Regions from separate parts of the Homo sapiens genome. Here region 1 is linked to region 2. Evidence: promoter capture Hi-C in 16 types of primary human blood cells and fetal thymus (Javierre and others, 2016). All regions are on one chromosome and are shown on one strand. The core of a region is centred on a gene start or on the middle of the fragment in contact, and the rest is flanking DNA. Distances in the headings are between cores, read along the strand shown. Region 1 has its middle 11 kb from the start of CSNK2A1. Region 2 holds the start of SLC52A3 (solute carrier family 52 member 3).

Region 1 (6,551 bases), core at 3,469-5,968, 210 kb before region 2:
CAAGAAGGCAGCCATTTACAAGCCAGGCAGAGAGCCTTCACCAGAAACCCTCCCTGACAGCACCTTGATCTCAGATTTCCAGCCTCTCAGTGAGAGGCTGAACTGTGAGAAAATAAATTTCTGTTGTTTAATCCTCTCAGTCTGTGGCATTTTGTTATGGTAGTTTGAGCAGACTACTACTGAGTCATCAACAGAGAAATGGTTTTTAAAGCCATGAGGGGCCAGGCATGGTGGCTCACACCTGTAATCCCAGCACTTTGGGAGGCTGAGGTAGGCAGATCACTTGAAGTCAGGAGTCTGAGACCAGCCTGGCCAACATGGTAAAACCCCGTCTCTATTAAAAATACAAAAATTAGCTGGGTGTGGCGGTGTGTGCCTGTAATCCCAGCTACCCAGGAGGCTGAGGCAGGAGAATTGCTTGAACCCGGGAGGCGGAGGTTGCAGTGAGCTGAGATCGAGCCACTGCACTCCAGCCTGGGCGACAAGGAAGAAACTGTCTCAAAAATAAATAAATAAGTAAATAGCCATAAGGCTGGGTGAAATTGCCCAGGGAATGAGTGTAGACAGAGAAGGAGGACCAAGGACTGCGCCCTGGGGCATCCAACAGTAAGAGACAAGCAACCAGCAAAGGAGCCTGAGAAGGAGCAGCCAGTGGGGTAAGTGTCCTGGGGACCAAGTGAAAAACGTGTTTCATGGAAGGAGTGTTGATCCCCTGATCCCCTGTGTCAGATGCTGCTGAGGGGTCAGAAAAGAAAAGAACAAAGAGCTGATTTACAAAGTGGAGGACATTGTTTTGACAGGAGAGAGTGTAGGTAGGTTGGTGGGAACAAAAGTCTGATTGGAGTGGGATTAAGAGAGAATAGGAGAAAATATAAATATAGACATAGAAAGGAAGGAAAAAAGGAAGGAAGGAAGGAAGGAGGGCTCTTTTTTTTTTTTTCTTTTTGAGATGGGTTCTCACTCTGTCGCCCAGGTTGGAGTGCAGTGGTGTGATCTCAGCTCACTGCAACCTCCGCCTCCCAGGTTCAAGCGATTCTCCTGCCTCAGCCTCCCGAGTAGCTGGGATTACAGGTGCGTGCCACCACGTCTGGCTAATTTTTGTATTTTTAGTAGAGATGGGGTTTTGCCATGTTGGCCAGGCTAGTCTCAAACTCCTGACATCAGGTGATCTGCCTGCCTCAGCCTCCCAAAGTGCTGGGATTAGAGGTGTGAGCCACCACACCTGGCCTGGAGAGCTCTTTTTAAGAGTAGAAAGCTGGGCCAGGCGCAGTGGCTCATGCCTGTAATCCCAGCACTTTGGGAGGCCGAGGCAGGCGGATCACCTGAGATCAGGAGTTTGAGACCAGCCGGGCCAACATGGTGAAACCCAGTCTCTACTAAAAATACAAAAAGTTAGCCAGGTGTGGTGGTGCATGCCTGTAATCCCAGCTCCTCAGGAGACTGAGCTAGGACAATTGCTTGAACCTGGGAGGTGGAGGTTGCAGTGAGCTGAGATAGTGCCATTGCACTCCAGCCCGGGCAATGAGAGTGAAACTCTGTCTCAAAAAAAAAAAAAAAAAAAAGTAGGAAGCAAATGACTAAATGTAGAAGAATAGGAGTTGGCAACCACCATAGGAGACAATCATTAATGGACACTGCAGTAGTGGATTAAAGTTTGATGAGAAATAGGGCATTTGCACAGTCTGAGAATATCTCCCCCCAAGATACTTATTAATTACAAAGGGTAAAATAGTAACTTTACATGGAGAAACACAGCCAACACCACTTGACCAAGTGATAAAGTGAACATCACCAGTAGCAGGGCAAATTGACATCATGTGGCTTCCGGGATGATGCACTGAGTGGGACGTCGCGTCACGTCAGTGATATTTCTGCCAAAGAGGCATAATTGACTCATGAGGAAGCATTAGAAAAGCCCAAAGTGGCCAGGCACAGTGACTCACACCTGTAATCCCAGCACTTTGGGAGGCTGAGGTGGGCAGATCACGAGGTCAGGAGTTCGAGACAAGCCTGACCAACATGGTGAAACCCTGTTTCTACTAAAAATACAAAAATTAGCTGGGCATGGTGGCGTGCGCCTGTAGTCCCAACTACTCAGGAGGCTGAGGCAAGAAAATCGCTTGAACCCAGGAGGCAGAGGTTGCAGTGAGCCGAGATTGCACCACTGCACTCTAGCCTGGGCAACAGAGCAAGACTCCGTCTAAAAAAAAAAAAATGTCCAAAGTGAGGATATCTTTGCAAGAGAACCTTACTCTTTAAAAATGTTGAAGTGGTAAAAGACAAAGGAAGACTGAGGAATAGTTTTAGATGAAGGAGAATAAAGTAATTACAACTACTGAATGCAATGTGAGATCCTAGATTAAGAAAAAATCATTTTCACTTACTACAAAATATATTAACTAGATGAGTGGTGAAATTTGAATAAGATCTGTAGATTAGATAATGGTTTTGCATCAGTGTAAAACGTCCCGATTTTGGTTATTATAAGAGAATGTCCTTCCTTTTAGGAAATGTGTACTGGTTTTTAGGCCTGTAACTTACCATAAAAGAGTTCAGGGTTGGAGGAAAGAAAAATAAATGATAAAGCAAAGATGGTAAAATCTGGGTAATGGGTATTTGGCTATTCTGTTTTTGTTTTTGAGACAGGGTCTCACTCTGTTACCCAGGCTGGAGTGCAGTGGTGTGATCATAGCTCACTGCAGCCTCAACCTCCCAGGCTCAAGCAATGCTCCCACCTCAACCTCCTGAGTAGCTGGGACCACAGTTGCGCACCACCACACCTGACTCATTTTTAAATATTTTTTAGAGATGGGGTCTCCCTGTGTTGCCCAGGCTGGTCTCAAATTCTAGGCTCAAGCAATCCTCCCATCTCAGCCTTCCAAAATGCTGAGATTTTAGGTGTTAGCCATTGTGGCTGGTGAGATTTGAGTGTTCTTTGTACTACTTTGTAACTTTTCTGTAAGTGACATTATGTCAAAATAAATTCTAACAAGAGAGAATAGAAGGAAAGGAAGTAGAGACATGGAGGCAGTGAGTCCAGGTAACTTTTTGAGGAGTTTTGCTATAGAACTGAGGACAGGTGGCAGGTGGAGAGCAAAATGGGGTCAAGATAAGTTGTTCAAAGGCAGAAATTGTAGCATGTTTTTATGCTGATGAGAGAGATTCAGTAGATTGGAAAAAAAAGTAATAATGCAGACAGAGAGAGAGAAGAGAGTGGCTAGAATGGTGTCTCTGGAGAGAAGGATGGGATCTAGTATACAAATGGGGGCTTTGACCTTGGAGCACAGATGGCTCATCCATGGTCACAGAAGGGAGGGCAGAGTATTTGGGTACCAGATTGGTAGGTAGGTAGCTGTGCAGTGGAAATGTGTGGAAATGCTTTCTGATTGCTACCATTTTCCCTGTGAAATAGGAAGCAAGGTCCTTGGCTAAGAGTGAGAATGGGGGAGAAGGTGATGGAGGTTTGAAAAGATAGGAAGGAAGTGTGTAGGGAAAATGAATGGATCTACTGTGATTGTCAGGCAGAACAAAAGACACCACTGAAGCTATCATCATTCAAGTAAAGTGAGGCCAGTCTACATGGTGGTGTGTTTTTCTCCAGCCACATTCCACTGCAGGGGGACAAACACAGAGGGATGTGGAGTTGGCACCAACTAACAGGTGTTTAGTCAGAGAGGGTCAGGGGGATCTTGGGAGTATGCAGCACAGTGGGGATAAAGTTATATCATGGCTGTAATCCACAAAGAAGGAAGTGAGGACAAGGAAACACCAAGGTTCAGAGAGGTTTAGTGACTTACCCAAGCTTGCACAGCTAGTGAATAATGAGTTGGTCTCTGCATCCAGGCAGTGTGGCTCAAAGCTTATTCTCTCACCAACCCAGTATACACAGGCTGTCCCCAGGGTGTAGCATAGCATTTGGCACATGTAGCCTCTGCTAACAAGTGAATTAAATTGTACCTGGGGTTCTCTCTGCCTTTCATTCTATGCCTCCGAAGAATACTAAATAAAATAAAATAAAACAACAACAACATAAAAACCTAGCTTCTTCCTTGCCTTCAAGCTGTCTTTGATGTCTTAGTGTGCACGATGAAGGAGATGTACCATCAGTCTCCTTTGGGTGGCCATTGGTTCATGCCTGCAGTCTGGCTTTCAGCAGGTCATTCTCAGCACATACTCTGGGGCAGACACTTTCTCAGGTTCTCAGTACACAGCGGGAAACAAGTCAGTATTCCTGGCCTGGTGGAGCTCAGTCAAGTGGGGAGAAGATAAGCAGACAAATCTAGCATTGCAAACTGGGATTATCGCCAGGAGAGACAAGTGGGCGGGGTATGAGAGTGCATGAGAGTAAAGCCGACCTAGTGGAGGGCGGGAAGAAGAGTTTACCCAAGGAAGGTCAGGAGGGGTGGCCCATGGGGCTGACTGAAGAGGAGAAACAGCATGGGCAAAGGTCCTAAGATAGGAACATGCCTGTTAATGGCATATCAAGGAGGCCAATGTGGTCCAGACGTATATGGAGAGGGTGGAGGGTGGGAGGGAACATAGTGGGAAATGAGATGGGAGAGGTTGGCAGGATCCACTACACCCTGTAGAGGAATCTGATTTAAGAACAATAGGGTTTAAGCAGGGGAATGATTTCGTAAGGTTTTACATTTATCAGCCAGGTGCGGTGGCTCACGCCTGTAGTCCCAGCACTTTGGAAGGCTGAGATGGGCGGATTGCTTGAGCTCAGGAGTTCAACATGGGGAAACCCCATCTGTAAAAAAATATACAAAAATTAGGCTGGGCGTGGTGGCTCATGCCTGTAATCCCAGCACTTTGGGAGGCTGAGGAGGGCAGATTATGAGGTCAGGAGATGGAGACCATCCTGGCTAGTAGTGAAACCCCTGGCTAGATGGTGAAACCCCATCTCTACTAAAAATACAGAAAAATTAGCCGGGCGTGGTGGCAGGCGCCTGTAGTCCCAGCTACTCGGGAGGCTGAGGCAGGAGAATGGTGTGAACTGGGAGATGGAACTTGAAGTGAGCTGAGATCATGCCACTGCACTCCAGCCTGGGTGACAGAGCGAGACTCCGTCTCAAAAAAAAAAAAATATATATATATATATATAAAATACAAAAATTAGCAGGGCGTGGCATCATGCACCTGTATTCCCAGCTACTTGGGGGCTGAGGCAGGAGGATTGCATGAACCCAAGGAGTTGAGGCTGCAGTGAGCCGAGATCACCCCACTGTGCTCTAGCCTCAATGACAAAGTGAGATCCTGTCTCAACAACAACAAAAAAAATTTTTTTTATTTATAAAAGACCTCTTTGGCTGCTGGGCCAGGAGCAGGGAGGACAGGAGGCAGGGGTAGGAGTGGAGGTGTGGGAGGAGAGGAAGCAGGAGAGGAGTGGAGGTGTGGGGGCAGGGGAGGCAGTGGGTGGGCCAGGAGAGAGGTGATGTGGCATGGGCTAAGATGGAAGCAGTGCAGATAAAGAGAGGTGGATTGACTTGGGACATATTTTGGAGCTGGAGTTCACCACAGGGAAACTGAGGCCCAGTGCTTCCAAGGATAGCGCTCCAGCTCTCCCAGCCCAATGGAAGCTTTTAGATACTTCTGCACTGTGGGGGTCACTTGTGGGTGGTTGCATTGGGGGACGAGTGGCCAGGACAGGTGACCTCTGACTTTTGTCTGGTGATGCGTGAGTCTCAGATTGGGCTTTGAAGGAGCCATGGGTACCTTGCTGGGCAGGTGGAGCATGTCCTTAGAGGATCATCCCACCATCCTCACGTAACCCTGCAGGTCTCTTCTCTCTGAGTCATAGTTCTCACACTTGTAACATGAAGAGGGACAGTACCCACTTAGGCGACATCACCCCCTTCTTACAGATGAGACAACTAGGCCAGGTACAGTAGCTCATGCCTGTAATCCCAGCACTGTGGGAGGCTGAGGCAGGCAGATCGCTTGAGCCCACACATTTGAGACCAGCCTGGGCAACATGGCAAAACTCTGAATCTACAGAAAATACAAAGATTAGCTGTGTGTGGTGGCATGCGCCTGTAGTCCCAGCTACTTGGGAGACTGAGGTAGGAGGATCACTTGAGCCCAGGAGGTGGAGGTTACAGTGAGCTGAGATCCACCACTATACTCCAGCCTGGGAGACAGATTGAGACTTTGTCTCAAAAAACAAAAACAAAAACAAAACCACCACCACCACCACAACAAAAAAACCCAAAAGAAAACAGATGAGACAACTGAGCCTCAGTGAAGGGAAGTGGCTCTTTAGGGTCATACAGGAGTAAAGACACAGCCAAGACTAGCACCCAGGCTAGAGCCTGGGCTGTTGACCTTTCTGCTTCATCATTTGCCTCCCATACCTTTCCTGGGCTCGTCAGTCCTGGGGATGCTCAACTCACCCAACACTGTGTTTCAAGCCCAGGGAATCCAGGATCGGTTAGTTCAGTGGTTAGGGGTATGGGCTGCTTGGATTCTATTTCCAGCGCCACCAAGGGGCCTTATTCTGTCTGAACCTTGGTTTTCTCCTCTGCAAAATGGGGCTAACAGTGCATACC
Region 2 (7,113 bases), core at 1,999-4,498:
TGTCTGATATCTCAGTGACATTGACGCAGGTAGTGAGACCGGAGCCCTGGGCAAGAGCCACCAGGGCGGGCAAGAGGCCGCTGAGTCCTTCACCCACAAAGAAGGTGGTGAGGTAGTAGGTGGGCAGCCGGCTCATGAACGGCAGGAAGGTCACTGAAGAGGTGCAGTCCACCAGGGCCAGGAAGAAGGTGAGGACCAAGAAGGCGATGCTGTGGTGGCCGTCCAGCACCCAGGAGGTCATATTCCAGAGGAAGGCAAAGATGATGCAGGTGACGGTTCCCACGCCCAGCAGGGTGAAGATGATGGGCACTTCGGAAAGGCAGCTGGGCCGGAAGTGATGGAGCAGGGTGACCAGGAGGGGCCCGATGTTGGCCAGCTGGATGACCACCGTGAGGTAGGAGGGCAGGTACCAGCCCTCGGGCAGCTCCATCACCAGCAGGGGCAGCTCTACCCAGAGCCCATTGATGGTCACCCAGGAGCCCATTCCGAAGACGCAGACCAGCAGGTGCATCAGGAAGGCCATGGCGGTATCTGCCCTGGGCCAGAGGCTTTCTCAGATCAGCCTGCAGCGGGGCTGGCAGAGAAGGACACCAGGTGAGTAATTCCAGCTTCACCACCTAGCAAGATGCTGGGACCTGGGGCCCAGAGTTTTCTCTTATTACTCCCCTTCCTGTGAACAAGCTGGCTTTTTTTTTTTTCCTTTGAGACATAGTTTCACTCTTTTAGTCCAGGCTGGAGTGCAATGGGATGATCTCGGCTCAGTGACCCTCTGCCTCCTGGGCTCAAGTGATTCTCCTGCCTCAGTTTCCCAAATAGCTGGGATTACAGGTGCATGCCACCATGCCAGCTAATTTTGTATTTTTAGTGGAAACAGGGTTTCCCCACGTTGGTCAGGCTGGTCTCGAACTCCTGGCCTCAGGTGATCCGCCTGCCTCGGCCTCCCAAAGTGCTGGGATTACAGTGTGAGCCACCACGCCTGGCCCAAGCTGTCTTTTTATTAGCAGAAAACAAGAGAAGCCTTTCCTAACCGTGATTCATGAAAGAAAAGTTCAATCCGACACACAAAAGCAAACAAAGCAGCTTCTGCAAAAGATACCAACAGCAAGGTCAAAAGTTAAATGAAAACACGGGGAAAACATTTGCCACATAAATCACAGACAAAGGGCTCATCTTCCTTGTCAGGCCTCTGAGCCCAAGCCTGCGCGTGTACATCCAGATGGCCTGAAGTAACTGAAGAATCACAAAAGAAGTGAAAATGGCCGGTTCCTGCCTTAACTGATGATATTACCTTGTGAAATTCCTTCTCCTGGCTCAGAAGCTCCCCTACTGAGCACCTTGTGACCCCCACCCCTGCCCGCCAGGGAACAACCCCCTTTGACTGTAATTTTCCACTACCTACCCAAATCCTATAAAACTGCCCCACCCCTATCTCCCTTCGCTGACTCTCTTTTCGGACTCAGCCCGCCTGCACCCAGGTGAAATAAACAGCCTTGTTGCTCACACAAAGCCTGTTTGATGGTCTCTTCACATGGACGCGCGTGACATTCCTAATATATAAAGAGTTTTTAAAAATCAAGAACAAAGAGACCCCATATAGAAGAGGGCCAAGGATATGAACAATTCAGAGAAAAAGGTACAAATAAGCTTTAAACACATGAAAATATTATCACCTTCATTCACAATAGGAAAACTACTCCAGGTGCCATTTCTCACCATGAGATTGTCCCAAAGCCTGACAAAATGACTCATGTTCAAGGTTATTATAGATTGCGATCTTGTTGGTAATAGCAAGTTATGGGAAATTTTCTCCTGGGTGGCTACCAACAGAGAGGGGGCTAATTAAAGGGACCTGCTGGAATACCACATACCTGTTTAAAGGAATAAGAAATAAGGAAAGCAGATCTTGGTGACTGATAAGGAAAGGTCTCCAGGCTATAATAATAATCTTGAAACAAAATCAAGGCAGGTAAATGGAACCAGGAAAAAGTGTACTGCCTTTTGGTCATAGAAGAGGAGGAAAAACATGTTTTCTTTGCTTGTACTTGCACAAAGCAACCCTTGAAGGACACACAGGGACTGCAGGGATGTTGGTGATGCCTCTGTATATCTTTTTTTTTTTTCTTGTGACAGAGTCTTACTCTGTCACCAGGCTGGAGTGAAGTGGCACAATCTCAGCTCACTGCAACCTCTACCTCCCGGGTTCAAGTGATTCTCCTGCCTCAGCCTCCCAAGTAGCTGGGACTACAGGCGCCCACCACTACGCCCAGCTAATTTTTTGTATTTTTATTAGAGATGGGGTTTCTCCGTGTTAGCCAGGATGGTCTCAATCTCCTGATCTTGTGATCCACCCTCCTCAGCCTCCCAAAGTGCTGGGATTACAGGCATGAGCCACCGCTCCTGGCCCTGCCTCTGTATATCTTTTAATAAGAGTTTTGATTTGTGAACCATGTAAACATATTACCTGATGCAAATATATGGTTACCTGAAATAAGATTTCAATCTGGCTTTTTTTCCTCCTGAAATTATATCACTCTCTACGTGGCCTTTGGAGACCACTTCCTCTAGCCCTCCAGAGCCATTCTGCCATCTGTTTACCCCTTTGTCAGCTACCAGTGGCAGCCCACCTGTGCTGTTACTAACAACTTTCTTCTATCTATCCTTAGTCTGAGCAGTAATATGGGAGATGCCAGGAGTGAGGCTCTGGAGCCAGCTGTTTGAGTTTGACCCTGGCTCTGCTGCTTACAATCTGGGTGACCCTGGGCAAGTGGCTTTGCCTCTCTCTGCCTCATCTCCTCATCTGTAAGTAGGGGATAGTGATAGTATGAACTCCGTGGTTTGTTGTGAGATATAAGGATGCTGGTGAGTTTATGCTGTTTCCAACAGTCCCAGCATAGGGTAAGCACCTCTAAGGGTTACTGATCATTATCGTGAAATGGCAGGTTTGGTGACATCGTTATTTTTGTCTAATTCACATGAGAATTAATACATGACTATGAAAATTTAAAAAAGGAAAAGATTCCCCTACTAGGTATCAAGTGAACTCACCAGTGGTATATGCACCTTTTTGTAGAGACACGCTAACTGGGCCAATCTTCACGTTTTGTAGATGGGAGACGAGGTCCGAAGGGGCAGAGGGGCTCTCCTGGGATCTGGACTGGATCCTCTGCAGCAAGCGGCCTGTCCGGGACTCCTCAGTTCACGCTGCAGTCTTTAACTCCATACTTCTTCCTTCTAGTACAAAGCAGGAGTGTCCGTTGTGGCCACGCCTCACCCAGGAAACTCCTGAATCCTGGCAGCTCCTCCCCACGGTTCCCACACACGGAATTCCCTCACAGGGCTGGGACTTCCTTCCTCATACCTTCACTGAGCGAACCCAATGCTCAGTGGCCTTTCTGGTCACCTCCTTTTCCTCTCTGGGAGGAGCCACTCCTGGGGTGTAACGCAGTCAGATCCCCTAGCAGTCCCGCTCTGCCCCCTCCCTTCTGGGGGCCTCAGACTCCATTCCCTCCCTTAGGAAGCTGACTTGACTAATAGCACAGGTGAGGCCCACTCCAGGCGTGCCAAGAGGACCCAAGGAGGGAGGGGAAGCTCCCAGACAGCAGTGGCACACCTTTGCCTGTGCTGTCCTCCCAGCCTGGAGCACCAGCCCCCTCTGCTGTCCACATCCAAGCTTTCTACAAGACTCCGTCCTCCAGGAGACCTCTGGCTGCCTCACCTTCTCAGGCGTCCTCACCAGGGCCCATGACCCCTTCATTTCAGGTTGTTCTTGTGTGGGTGCATGCAGGCACATACCTTGAGACTGAAGCTTTTTGAGGGCAGGGGCTGCTTGGGAATCTGACATTTTGAAGGTGGAAGGGCCTTTCTCAATGACTTAGCTTAGGATTTGTAAATTGTTAACTCACTGGCCACTGCCAGACAGCAGATATATTACTTTGGTTTGCCCAGTGTGTTTAACAATTTGTTACTGTAATCAGCAGTGGAGGGGATGGCAAGCAACCTTCAGCATTTCTGGCTTCTCAGGAATATTTTGGAAGAAGTGGCCCCCCACTTTGGCCTCTTTCTCTGTTCTAGACTCGGGCCATCTTGGAGCTCTCCCCTGCGGTAACATCTGGAACCAGTTGCCTGGGTTCAAATCCCAGCTTCAACCCTTACAAGCTGAGCAAGTGACCTAACCTCCTGTGCTTCAGAGTCTTCTCTTGCAAAACAGCTATAGGCTGTCAGTACCAACATCAGAACTGTTGCTAGGAACATGCACTAAAGTGCTAAAACTGTGCCTGCCACATAGTGAGGGCTCAATGAACCATCATTATAAGATTACTATTTCAGCAAACGTATCAGTTGCATTCAAAAACATGTAGTTATTGGCCAGGCGCGGTGGCTCACGTCTGTAATCCTAGCACTTTGGGAGGATGAGGCGGGCGGATCCCTTGAGGTCATGAGTCCGAGACTGGCCTGGCCAACATGGCAAAACCCCGTCTCTACTAAAAATACAAAAATTAGCCCAGCATGGTGGCGCACACCTGTAATCCCAGCTACTCAGGAGGCTGAGGCCGGAGAACGGCTCCAACCTGGGAGGTGGAGGTTGCAGTGAGCCGAGATCATGCCACTGCACTCCAGCCTGGGCAACAGAGCGAGACTCCATCTTAAAAAAGAAAAAATAAAAAAAAGGCGCAGTTTTTGTTAGACAAATGGCCACTCAACTAAAGGACTACATTTCCCAGCCTTCTTTGTAGCTGCACATGGCCATGTCATCAAGCACAGGCCAATGAATTCAAATGCGACTTTGAGTAGTCTCCTTAGCCCGTTTCCTGTTTAGAAAAAAAAGTGCAGCTCGTTGCCAGCACTCATTTAATTTTATGTAAACGTGCTATTTGAGGCTGAAGCAAATCTGATTCTGACTGCTGTTTTTTTTTTTTTTCTTTTGAGACAGAGTCTTACTGTGTAGCCCAGGCTGGACTACAGTGGCTTGATCTCGGCTCACAGCAACCTCCGCCTCCCGAGTTCAAGCAGTTCTCGTGCCTCAGTCTCCTTAGTAGCTGGGATTACAGGCGTGCACCACAATGTCCGGCTAATTTTTTATATTTCTTAGTAGAGACGGGGTTTCTCCATGTTGCCAGGCTGGTCTCGAACTCCTGGGTTCAAGTGATCCCCACGCCTCAGCCTCCCAGAGTGCTGGGATTGCAGGCGTGAGCCACCAAGCCCAGCCCTAAATCTGACTGATTTTCAATGTGAAAATAACATGTAAAAACTGTTTTTGAAGTTATTTCTAACCAGAACTAACATCAGACTCATCTATTTCAGAAAAACTGGATTCATCAAACGAATCTTTGGTCAACAACTGTTCAAGAACAATGTTAACATCACACATAGGAATGCTAGGATTTGCTATTTTCAGCGATCGAGAATTACTTTGTTTTGTAAATGGAAATACCACGACTAAAACCAGAATGCTACAAATAGAGTGATGTCTTTTGTTTCCAAAGTCAATATACTAGAGCAAGGCAAAAATAATAATAAAAGCGAGGTATTTTGTGGCAAAGTTATCTTGGGGTAAACACTGCAGTCACAAGTGGGTATTCCTTCTGGCAAACAGGGAAAGAGTTAACAATAAGGGAGTGTGCCCTTCTGCTCTTCCTCCATTTGGCTGTCTGGAATCAGATGTGATGGCCAGAACTCCAGCAACGATTTTGTGCTATGAGGCATGTGGTGGGGGTTAGATGCATACTAGGCTCCTTTGGGATTTTGTGGCAGAGAGCACCCATACCAGCCCTGTTTTGCCTGTGTTGAACTGTTTTGTTTGTTTGTTTAATGTTGTTGTTAAATTGTAAAAGAAACTTCTATGTTGTTTAAGTCACTCTTATTTTATGTACAACAAAAGTACTCAGAGGCTGGGTGCAGTGGCTCACTCGTATAATTCCAGCACTTTGGGAGGCTGATGTTGGCAGATCACTTGAGGTCAGGAGTTCAAGACCAGCCTCCAACTGGTCAACATGGTAAAACCCTGTCTTTACCAAAAACACAAAAAATTAGCCAGGTATGGTGGTGGGCACCTGTAATTCTAGCTACTCGGGAGGCTGAAGCAGGAGAATTGCTTGAACTCGGGATGTGGAGGTTGTAGTGAGCCAAGAGCACGCCAGTGCACTCTAGCCTCGGCGACAAAGCAAGACTCTTGTCTCAAAAAACTAAAAGAAACAAACAGACAAAAACTACTCCATACTAAGTGCACAGAGATACACATTCCAGGATATATATTGAAAGATTATAGTAACCAAAAACTAATGAATACATTTATCTCCTTTACCACCTACTTTCTGACTCTGAAACTTAGGTCCTGTCCCAACCAGGATTTGATCAAAAATCAAAATTTAACAAAAGTAGTTGTTTAGACCCTTGGGGGCAAATGTCTTGCAGAGATATGAAAAAAAAAAAAAAAAGGAGAAGAGAGAAAGAGGGAGGAACAGAGGAACACAGAACCCTCCATATAGCATTTGGTACCAAAAGTATAAATTGAGACCAAGAGTCATTTCATATATCAAAACTCTAATTCATAAAGGAGTCAAAATTGTAGTGACTATCTGTATTCTGAATATTTCCTGAAATAGCCTCAGACATTCCAGGAGAAATGGACAGAAGCACAGTCCAGCAGTACAGGCCTGACTCACCCTTCCAGGTCAAGACAGCAGACGAAGGTGCAAAATAAACAAGGATATAGCAAAAGCAATAAATGATATACCTAGTAAAGAGGGCTAAGTCAGTAGTTAAGGGGAGTAGGCGAATTTGCAGATGATGGTGACCTTTGCCATATGAAAAGCTATTAAACTAATGAGAGTGTCCAGTTAAACATTTACAAACATCAGTAGCTTTCCCACAGAGGGCTGGATGGGGAGATGAGGGCAGACAGGGCAGAAGTAGCCTCACTTTCTTGTATGTTCGACAACTCCTAAGCTCTGAACGCCTAAATCCCTGCTCCCCACAAAGACGAATTCTCTGGTTTTGACCCAGGTGCTACCACGGCTGTGTCACTTGAGGGATGGGATTTGGCTCCGGGGGTCTGTTTCCTTGTCTGGAAACCAGGCACAGTGGGGGTGTGTCCCCACGTGACCCATCTGCCCT

The links. The method cuts DNA at HindIII sites, captures the fragments that hold promoters and counts their contacts. A CHiCAGO score of 5 or more calls a contact.
Region 1: a fragment that was not itself captured here is called in contact with the fragment with the promoter of SLC52A3 in region 2 in 2 of 17 cell types (M2 macrophages and megakaryocytes); the score reaches 7.2 in M2 macrophages.

Annotation. Positions count from the first base shown.
Region 1 is chr20:551,794-558,344 of GRCh38, forward strand. No RefSeq gene overlaps it. Among named protein-coding and RNA genes, the nearest start is that of CSNK2A1, 11 kb to the left of the region's middle. The HindIII fragment of the contact is 1,723 bases long and covers 3,858-5,580 here.
Region 2 is chr20:765,252-772,364 of GRCh38, forward strand. SLC52A3 (solute carrier family 52 member 3) reads right to left here and starts at 3,249. Exons shown (of 5, transcript NM_033409.4): 1 at 3,046-3,249; 2 at 1-574. The coding sequence starts at 523. RefSeq lists an enhancer at 3,424-3,923. The HindIII fragment of the contact is 2,026 bases long and covers 1,643-3,668 here.